Linked DNA regions of Homo sapiens: region 1 is linked to region 2. Evidence: promoter capture Hi-C in human tissues and cell types (Jung and others, 2019). All regions are on one chromosome and are shown on one strand. Each heading gives the region's core, a stretch centred on a gene start or on the middle of the fragment in contact. The rest is flanking DNA. Distances are from core to core; before and after follow the strand shown. Region 1 holds the start of CACNA1I (calcium voltage-gated channel subunit alpha1 I). Region 2 overlaps MRTFA (myocardin related transcription factor A).

Region 1 (4,518 bases), core at 432-2,931, 1.1 Mb after region 2:
CTCAACATCCCAGCCTGCATCTGGCATCCCTGGATTCCAGGGCAGGACTCAGGCCTGCACCTGACCCACCAGCTCCCCGCACCCTGCCCTGTGTGGCCACAAGCACCAGAACCTCGAGCCACATATGGGCATTTTTTGGTGGGACCCTCAAACCACAAGGCCACCATGGCTTGGGTCCCCAAGCCTCCTCCTCAGTGGTCCCCAGCCCCCACTTCACCCTGCAAGCCAGTGCCACACAGTCCTTCCAGAGCACAGATCTCTCCAGACCCTGCTTCAAATCCTGCCCTTGGAGCACAGTCCCATCCCTCATGCAGCCTCCAAGGCCCTGCAGGGCTCCCGCCACACCTGCAGCCTCACCTCACTCCTCTCTGCCCCTCAGGGCTCCAACACTGCCTGCAACTCCTCCCTTCTCCAGGCTTCGCTCCTGCCATGCCCTCCTCCTGCCTCCCACTACCCTCTCTACCCAACCAACGCTCTTCCTTATTGAGGAGTCAGCTCTGGCATTGCCCATGTACACCCAGCAAACACTGCCAGAGCACCCACGATGTGCCAAGCACTGTGCCAGGTGCTAGGGTCCCCATCCCAGTCATCTGACAGTACCCCAGGGGAGGCAAATGTTAGATTCAGAATTCCACAGTTAGATGTGACAGTTAGATATGAAGCAGAGGAGGAATCCCAGAGGGCTTCCCTGAGGAGGTGATGCTTAAGCTGGGATTTTAAGGATGTAGCAAAGGATTTGGCCAGGTCCAGGGGGAAGGGAAAAGCTTTTCAGACAGGGGGAAGAGCCAGTGAGAGGACCCTGAGGCTCAGAAGAGCACAGGGGGGAAGCCAAGTGGTGGGAAGTGAGGCTGGGTGGAACACACAGGCCCTGATGGGTTGGATTAGGACTTTGCTCTGCACCTCCAGGACCATAGCAAATCATGACAGTCTTAAGCAGGGGGAACATGAGCCCACTGGAGGCAGCAAGTGGAGGCAGGAGGCCTGGGAAGAGGCTGCTCGGAGGCACAGTAAGGAGAATGAGTCCTGCCCTGTGTGTTGGGATCGGCTGCCCCGCTGCCCACGCCCACAGTTCCTGATCACGGCTCCCATCCTCTGTATGGTCACGGCCCATCAGGTGGCTCCAGAGTCTGACTGATCTGCATTCCCAGCCCAGCACAGGTCTGGGGCCCACACTCAAGGACTTTCTGAGCCAGCCAGCCACTGGACTGACCCCACAGCCACCAGCAACTTCCAGAACCTTCACATCAGCAGAACACCAGGTCCTCATCCATTTGAGGTCTCCCCAGACCCACCCTCTGAGCTCGCTCACCACCACCAAGGCCCAGTGGCCTCACCGCAGACCTCAGGTCTCCCAGCCGGAGCAAGGTGTGAGCAGCAGGACTCAATCCAGCCCCCCACCCTTCAGCCCCTGCAGGGCCCCGATCAGCCGAGGCTGCGGAGGATATGGGTTGCACACCATCTTGATGCACCAGTTCCGGGGGCTGGTGGTCTGTCGCAGGCAGAAGAAGGCAATAGGCGCCAGGTCTGGGTGTGGGACATGAGGATCAGCTCCATCCAGAGGCTCCTCCAGGCCTGGCGGGGAGGATGGGGGGCTCCGGGGTCCGGGCTGCTCCGTGGTGACTCCTGGCTCAGCGGCTGGGGCTGCTGCAGATGAGGAGGGCGGGGAGGCGCTCTCAGCCATGTCCACACTGAGCTGGGAGCCCTGGGGAAGACAGAGAGGGTGGCACGTGGTGGGGACAGGCCTGGTACATGCTCCCCAACCTGCCTCTCCACCAATAAGTGGACGGATGCAGCTCTGACAGCCCCACCTGAGCCCCACAGGCCCCTCACCCTCACTCTTGCATGAGGATTACGAAACAGCTGAGGGCCCAGCTGCACCCAACTTGGAATCTGCTTCCAAGCTGGGTGATCATGGGGCAAGTCTGCTCACCCTGGCTGAGCCTCAGTTTTGGCAAACGAAGATAGTGGGGAGAATAAAGCCTTCTTAGAATATAATTGTGATATTAACTCTTTTTTTTTTGTCTATTGGCAATTTTCTGTATTTGAAATCTTTCATTATTTAAGAGAAAAAATGTTTAAGTAATTATAGACAGAAAAGAAAGACGGAAGGGAGGGAGAGAGGGAGAGAGGGAGGGAGGGAGGGAAGAAAGGAAGGAAGGAAGGAAGGAAGGAAGGAAGGAAGGAAGGGATCTTAACTTTTTTACAAGACTAGAGCTATGTATTTATTGCACCATCAAAGGTAAAGAAAACTTGCAAGAAAAAAGAGGTGATTGTAAAGACAGACATTATTGCCAGGACAATGCAGGTTACAAAGGCAATGTTGGGGTGCTGCAGAATCAGAGACTGGGGGAACGCTGGCAAGCCAGGAGGGAATCACAGTTGGCTTCCCTGAGGAAGTAACCCCTGAGCTGAGACCTACAGCTGAGCCCTTGACCCAGGGACCTCCCAGCCACTGCCTTACAAGGCTGAGAACCCAGGAATCTTAGAGTCTAACCTCCTTGCCTTACAGATGAAGAAACCGAGGCCCAGAGAAGGGACAGGACAGACATGTAGCAGAGTAACAGCAGAAATAGAATTCCAGTCAAAGGCCAGGCACGTGACTCACACCTGTAATCCCAGCACTTTGGGAGGCCAAGGTGGGTGGATCACCTGAGGTCAGGAGTTTGAGGCCAACCTGGCCAACATAGTGAGACCTCATCTGTACTAAAAATACAAAAATTAGCTGGGTGTGGTGGCACACGCTGTAATCTCAGCTACTCGGGAAGCTGAGGCATGAGAATCACTTGAACCCGGGAGGTGGAGGTTGCAGTGAGCCAAGATCACACCACTGCATTCCAGCCTGGGCAACAGAGCAAGACTCTGTCACCAAAAAAAAAAAAAAAAAAGAATTCCGGTCAGAGCCCGCTTCCTGGGTCTGTGGCTCAGGCAGCTGCACAGGGCCCCGTGCTCAGAAGGGCCCTGAACTTGCTTTAGAATTCTTCTGTCACCAACATGAAATTCTTAATTGCTTATCAAGAGGTCCCACATTTTCATTTTGTTCTAGGTGATGCAAATCATCTTGCTGGCTCCGACTCCAACTCAAAGCACTTCTACTCCCTGGCCTTGTCTGATGCTCACAACAACCTCAGGAGGACTATTATGCCCATTTGGCAGGTGAAGAAACTGAGGCCAAGAGAACAAAGCGGGTTGTCAAGGCTATGCACCCAGCCAAGTGAAGCACTAGGTGGTGTTGAGAGGCCAGAATCCCAGCACCAGACCCCCAGGCGGGCTTCATGACAACTGATGGTGCCCTCGCTGGCCGAGAGCCTCCGCAACCAGTCAATGGCAAGATGGGACGGACAGCCACTCCCAGGGCCTGCCCCTCACCACCTCACCCCAAAGGGTACTAGTCCCTAAAACTTTGTCCACTGGGGTCCCTGGGATCCTAGAACCCCTACAGGGCCAGTCTGAGCCGTGGGATTGAGAGATGGGGTCCACGTCCCTGGTGCCCACCCAGCTGCTGCTGGGCTGTCGACCAAGCCACCCGGAGCTGATGCATTTGGACATTTCTCTGGCTCCCGGGGGCAACGGGCAGGGGTTGGCACCTCCTGCCACTTCCCCTGGCTGGTCAGGGAGGCGGAGTTTTCTCCTGAGCTCAGGGCTTTGCTCTTGATTCCAGAAAAACAGCCACGGGCCTTACATAAGCTCCCAGGCACCTTGGCCTGCCACGTGTCAACCTCCTGGGCTGAAACGCACCCTCCCTAGGGTGGTTCCAGCTCTGCCCACCACCGTGCCAGCCTCGGAGCCCACCACTCCCTCCCCTGGCCATTTGCTCTGGCCAGATTGGACCTCCTCAGGTCCTAGGCCCTGCTCCCGCTCTTCCCTCTCACTGGGGCACCTTCTCCTTCCGCCCAGGCCCTGTTCTCCCAGGCCCTACTGATTCATTCATTTGCCCAATGAGCACCTACTATGTGTGGGCACTGTGTGGGCTTCGGGCTATGCTGGGGCACGAGCCAGACTCAGCACCAGCCCCCATTCAGCCCACACTTCCGCAGAGGAGAGAGACACACCGATCAATTAATTTCTCTCTTTCTGCTTTTCCACAACTCTTATCACCATCAAACACGGTGCATAATTTATGTCTTTATATCTCCATGATTTGGTGTCTGTCTCCCCAGCCTAAGAGAAGCCTGTAAGGGAGGTGTATCCCCTCACTGCTGTATCCCCAGCACCTGGAATGGTGCCTGGAGCATACTAGGTGCTCAATCGATATTTGTTGACTCAGTGAATAAAAAGTGCTGGGAAGTAAATAAACAAGGGGAAAGGTGGGAGTGGAGACAATCATCTTGCCCTCTCTAAAGGAAGAGATGTTTAAGTGAAAACCAAGACGCGGGAGGCCGCAGCCCTGACTGATCTGCTGGAAGAGCACAGGAGGAAGAGCACGTGCGAAGGCCAGGAGAATGGGGCCCGCTCGGTGCATTTAAGGAACACAAGCGAGGCCGAGCCTCGGGCAGGGAGGCGGATGAAACCAAAGAGTTC
Region 2 (4,432 bases), core at 1,126-3,625:
TAGATAATTTTTATTTTACAAAGTAGAGTGAACCAGTGGCTTTATTTAGGTGAATTCCACAGTTAAAATAAGACCCAAGGAGGTGCACAAGTTGCCATTAAGGGTGTCTCTTACCATCTTGTATCTTTGAATTTACTGGGCTCTCTGTCTGTAGAATGGGTTTAGCTGGAAGCAGTACTTAAAAGAGCATGTGCTTCACAAGAGCTAGGGCCCATAATAAAAATACCTAGAATGAGAACCTGTGTGGCTGAGTTTGAGGGACAAGGTTAACCTGGAGGGAATTTCAAAGGTATAGGCCTGGTACTGTGGCTCATGCCTATAATCCCAGCCATGTGAGAGGCTGAGACAGGAGGATTGCTTGAGCCCAGGAGTTTGAGGCTGCAATGAGCTGTGATCACACCACTGTGCTCCAGCCTGGTTAACAGATGAGACACTGTCTCAAGTAAATAAATAAATTAGAAAGTTAATTATAAGAAACTTCTAAATCTGGAGTATAGAAGTTTAGGAATTCAAAGGACGGATTTTGTGAAACTGCATCAGTTTAGATAAACTCTTTAGAGGCAGTAGTGATCTTCCTAATGAAGATGACTTCCATTTTACTACTTTAGGAAGTAGATTTGTTACGTCGAAAGGAAAGGAAATAGAAATGGATTCAGCTTTCTCCAAGTTGAAGTCTGAAATCTCTGATTTTGTACAACAGAAAAACGATTCTGTTGACTTAAAAACTGCCCAGGTGTTTTTTTGTTTGTTTCTTTTGTTTTGTTTTTAAAGAGACAGAGTCTCACTCTGTCATCCAGCTACCACACCCAGGCCTGTACCTTTTATTTTTTTATTTTTATTTTTTGAGAGACAGAGTCTCGTTCTCTTGCCTAGGGTAGAGCACAGTGGTGTGATCATGGCTCACTGCAACTGCCGCCTCCCAGGTTCAAGCGATTCTCCTGCCTCAGCTTCCCAAGTAGCTGGGATTACAGGTATGTGCCACCATGCCCAGCTAATTTTTGTATTTTTTAGTAGAGGCAGGGTTTCACTATATGTTGGCCAGGCTGGTCTCAAACTCCTGACCTCAGGTGATCCGCCTGCCTTGGCCTCCCAAAGCGCTAGGATGATAAGCATGAGCCACCGTGCTTGGCCAGTCCTGTACCTTTTAAATGCCCTCCAGATTAACCTTGTCCCTCAAACTCAGCCACACAGGTTCTCATTCTAGGTATTAGTGTGGGCCCTAGTTCCACCTCTAAGCTCTTGTGAAGCATATGGTGGGATCATAGCTCACTGCAACCTCAAAACTCCTTGTCTTAAGTGATCCTTCTGCCTCTGCCTCCTGAGTAGCTAGGACAACAGCATGTACCACCATGCTTGGCTAATTTTTTTTTTTTTTTTTTTTTTTTTGAGATGGAATCTTGCTCTGTCACCCAGGCTGGAGTGCAGTGGCGGGATCTCGGCTCACTGCAAGCTCCGCATCCTGGGTTCAAGCAATTCTCCTGCCTTAGCCTCCCGAGTAGCTGGGATTATAGGCACCCACCACCACGCCCAGCTAATTTTTTGTATATGTATATATTTTTTTTAGTAGGGACGGAGTTTCACTATGTTGGCCAGGCTGATCTCGAACTCCTGACCTCAGGCGATCCATCCGCCTCGGCCTCCCAAAGTATTGGGATTACAGCGTGAGCCACTGTGCCTGGCCTGCTTGGGTAATTTTTTTTTTTTTAATTATGTTTTGAGACGGAGTCTTGCTCTGTTGACCAGGCTGGAGTGCAGTGGTTCGATCTTGGCTCACTGCAACCTCCGTCTCCCGGGTTCAAGCCATTCTCCTGCCTCAGCCTCCCAGGTAGCTGGGACTACAGGCATGTGCCACCATGCCCGGCTAATTTTTTTGTATTTTTGGTAGAGACGGGGTTTCACCATATTGGACAGGCTGGTCTCAAACTCCTGACTTCAAGTGATCCGCCCGCCTCGGCCTCCCAAAGTGCTGGGATTACACATGTGAGCCACCGCGCCCAGCCTCTGCTTGGCTAATTTAAAAAATTTTTTTTGTAGAGAAGAGAAGAGAGTCTTGCTATATTGCCTAGACTAGTCTCAAATTCCTGGCCACAGCAATCCTCCTGCCTTGGCCTCCCGAAGTGTTGGGATTACAGGTGTGAGCCACCGTGCCTGGCCAAAATTCTTAAAAATACTGAATCCATATCACATGTATGAGGAGAGAAGATAATTACACTCTGTGTCACTGCAGGTGTTAAAGCAGAAATTGGGTGACCTGTCAGGGTGCATTGGGTGGAACTAATTGCTCAAGTTGCCTTCAGTTCTGTGGTTCATGACTCAAGTCCAGTTCTCTCATTGTTTAGTGGGAGGAGGCACTGTGAAATTAAATGATTTGAGTTCCACAACAGTCCAGGGGCTGAGCCCAGGCCAGTTCCTCACACAGTATTTAAGGCCGGCTCATATAGCAGTAATAGAAGATCTGTAGAATCCTTGGAAGAAAGAGCGTTGTGAAAATGTCTTTTTTTTTTTTTACTTCCACATTTTTACTTCTGTGGTATGTTTGGTTCATTTGCTCCCCACTCATTCTTATTGATATGCATTTAGAAATCATTCTCTGTGTAAATGAGAGCTTGTAATGAGTAATTTGGCTAGTTCATTTTGAGATCTGGAGTGTGTCCTCTGTTACTGAATTTCTAGATAGGTAGGCTATTTACAGGTCTTTGTCCTCTAAAATTATGAGTGGAAATTATGGGTGATTCTGGTTTTTGAAAATAATTGTTCTTGTATTAAAATTTAAAGCATAATGGGCATAATTCAAACAAAGTTCTGAACTTCATAATATGACAGAGTAAAATATCCAGTGAGGTAACATGTCCATGTCAAGTTTTAGGGCACAGCAGATCTGGGTACTGACAGTTACCAGGTATGTGACTGTAGGCTTACTCCTTAACCTTCCTGTGATTCAGCTTCTTCATCTGTAAACTAGAGTTAATAATCCTTACAACATGAGGTCGTTATAAGGATTATGAAGAAATGTAAAGAGGGAAGTAATAGGGGCATCTACTTTATAGTAGACATTGTGCTACCTTATTAATCCTCATATGAACTCTGAAATAAGTGGTAGTAGCAGCATTTTGCAGATGAGCAAAGAGAAGCTTCTAGAGGAACTTCTAGATAACAGGATTTTTGTTGTTGTTTTGCTTTTTTGTTTTTTTTAGACAGAGTCTTGCTTTGTCTTCCAGACATGAGTGTAGTGGCAGGGTCATAGCTCACTGTGTCCTCAAACTCCTGTAACCTCAAACTGCTGAAGCAGTTCTCCTGCATAACTAGGACTATAGGCGTGTGCCATCATGCCCGGCTAAATTTTTTTGTGCAGGCGGGGTGTCACAGTGTTCCCCAGGCTGATCTTGAACTCTTGCCCTCACGCTTTGACCTCCTAAACTGTTGAGATGACAGGCATGAGCCGCTGTGCCTGGCCAGGATTTGAATCCAGATCTGTTTTTGAATTAAATAATTCTGGCTTCCTACCATGATGTATATGAAGTTCCTAACTTTGCCTCTAGTAAATGTCTTTTCGTGTTCAGTGTCTTTTGCATAGTTAGCGAAAATGTCAGTTATAGTGAGAACTCTTTGTAGTAGTAATCAAGATGTTATAGCTCAGAAAATATTCTGTGCGGTATTCATTATATGTATCTGGTTGCCATTCCTGAGGTGGAAAACTATAATAGTAACCTCACATCTTAAGTTGCTCAATTAATACTTGCCAAATAAGGGCCAGGCATTATGGCTTACACCTGTAATCCCAGCACTTTGGGAGGACAAGGTGGGAGGATCACTTGAGCCCAGGAGTTCAAGACCAGCCTGGGCAACATGACAAGACCGTGTGTCTACAAGAAGTAAAAAAAGTAGCTCAGCATGGTGACATGCACTTGTAGTGCATGAGCCCGGGAGATCGAGGCTGCAGTGAGCTGTGTTTGTGCCACTGCACTCCAGCCTGGGCAACAGAGTGAGACTGTCTCAGAAACAAAAAAATTACCAAATAAAGGCATACTGTAATATCCACATTTTTAGAATTTTTTTTTTTGTCAGTGTTTCAGTATCTTTTAAATTGTAAATGGGGTAAGTGATCCAGGGTCTCTTGATTGTGGTTAATTTGTACATATTTTCTCTACCACAAAATTTACAGGAACTTGGAAAGTTGTCCTTTCCTAATATTTTAGAATGCACTGTGTTGAATTTTGGTGTTAGAGTGGTGTTATCATGGTTGAAACTTTGGCTTTAGTTAGTGTGTGTGTGTGTGTGTGTGTGTGTGTGTGTGTTTGAGACAGGGTCTCATTCTGATACACAGGCTGGATCGCAGTGGCACGATCGTAGCTCACTGTAACCTTGAACCCCTGGCCTCAAGCAGTTCTCCCGCCTTGAACTCTCAAAGTGTTGGGACTACAGGCATGAGCCA

The links. The method cuts DNA at HindIII sites, captures the fragments that hold promoters and counts their contacts. A contact is called where the count stands out against the background at its distance.
Region 1: a contact is called between the fragment with the promoter of CACNA1I here and a fragment that was not itself captured in region 2, in 1 of the 25 tissues and cell types used here (dorsolateral prefrontal cortex).

What each region holds. Positions count from the first base shown.
Region 1 is chr22:39,567,916-39,572,433 of GRCh38, reverse strand. It overlaps CACNA1I (calcium voltage-gated channel subunit alpha1 I), which reads right to left and starts at 1,681. Exons shown (of 37, transcript NM_021096.4): 1 at 1,446-1,681. The coding sequence starts at 1,681. The HindIII fragment of the contact is 10,754 bases long and covers 1-4,518 here.
Region 2 is chr22:40,626,730-40,631,161 of GRCh38, reverse strand. The region is part of intron 1 of MRTFA (myocardin related transcription factor A); the gene reads left to right. Among named protein-coding and RNA genes, the nearest start is that of MRTFA, 7.8 kb to the left of the region's middle. The HindIII fragment of the contact is 9,289 bases long and covers 1-4,432 here.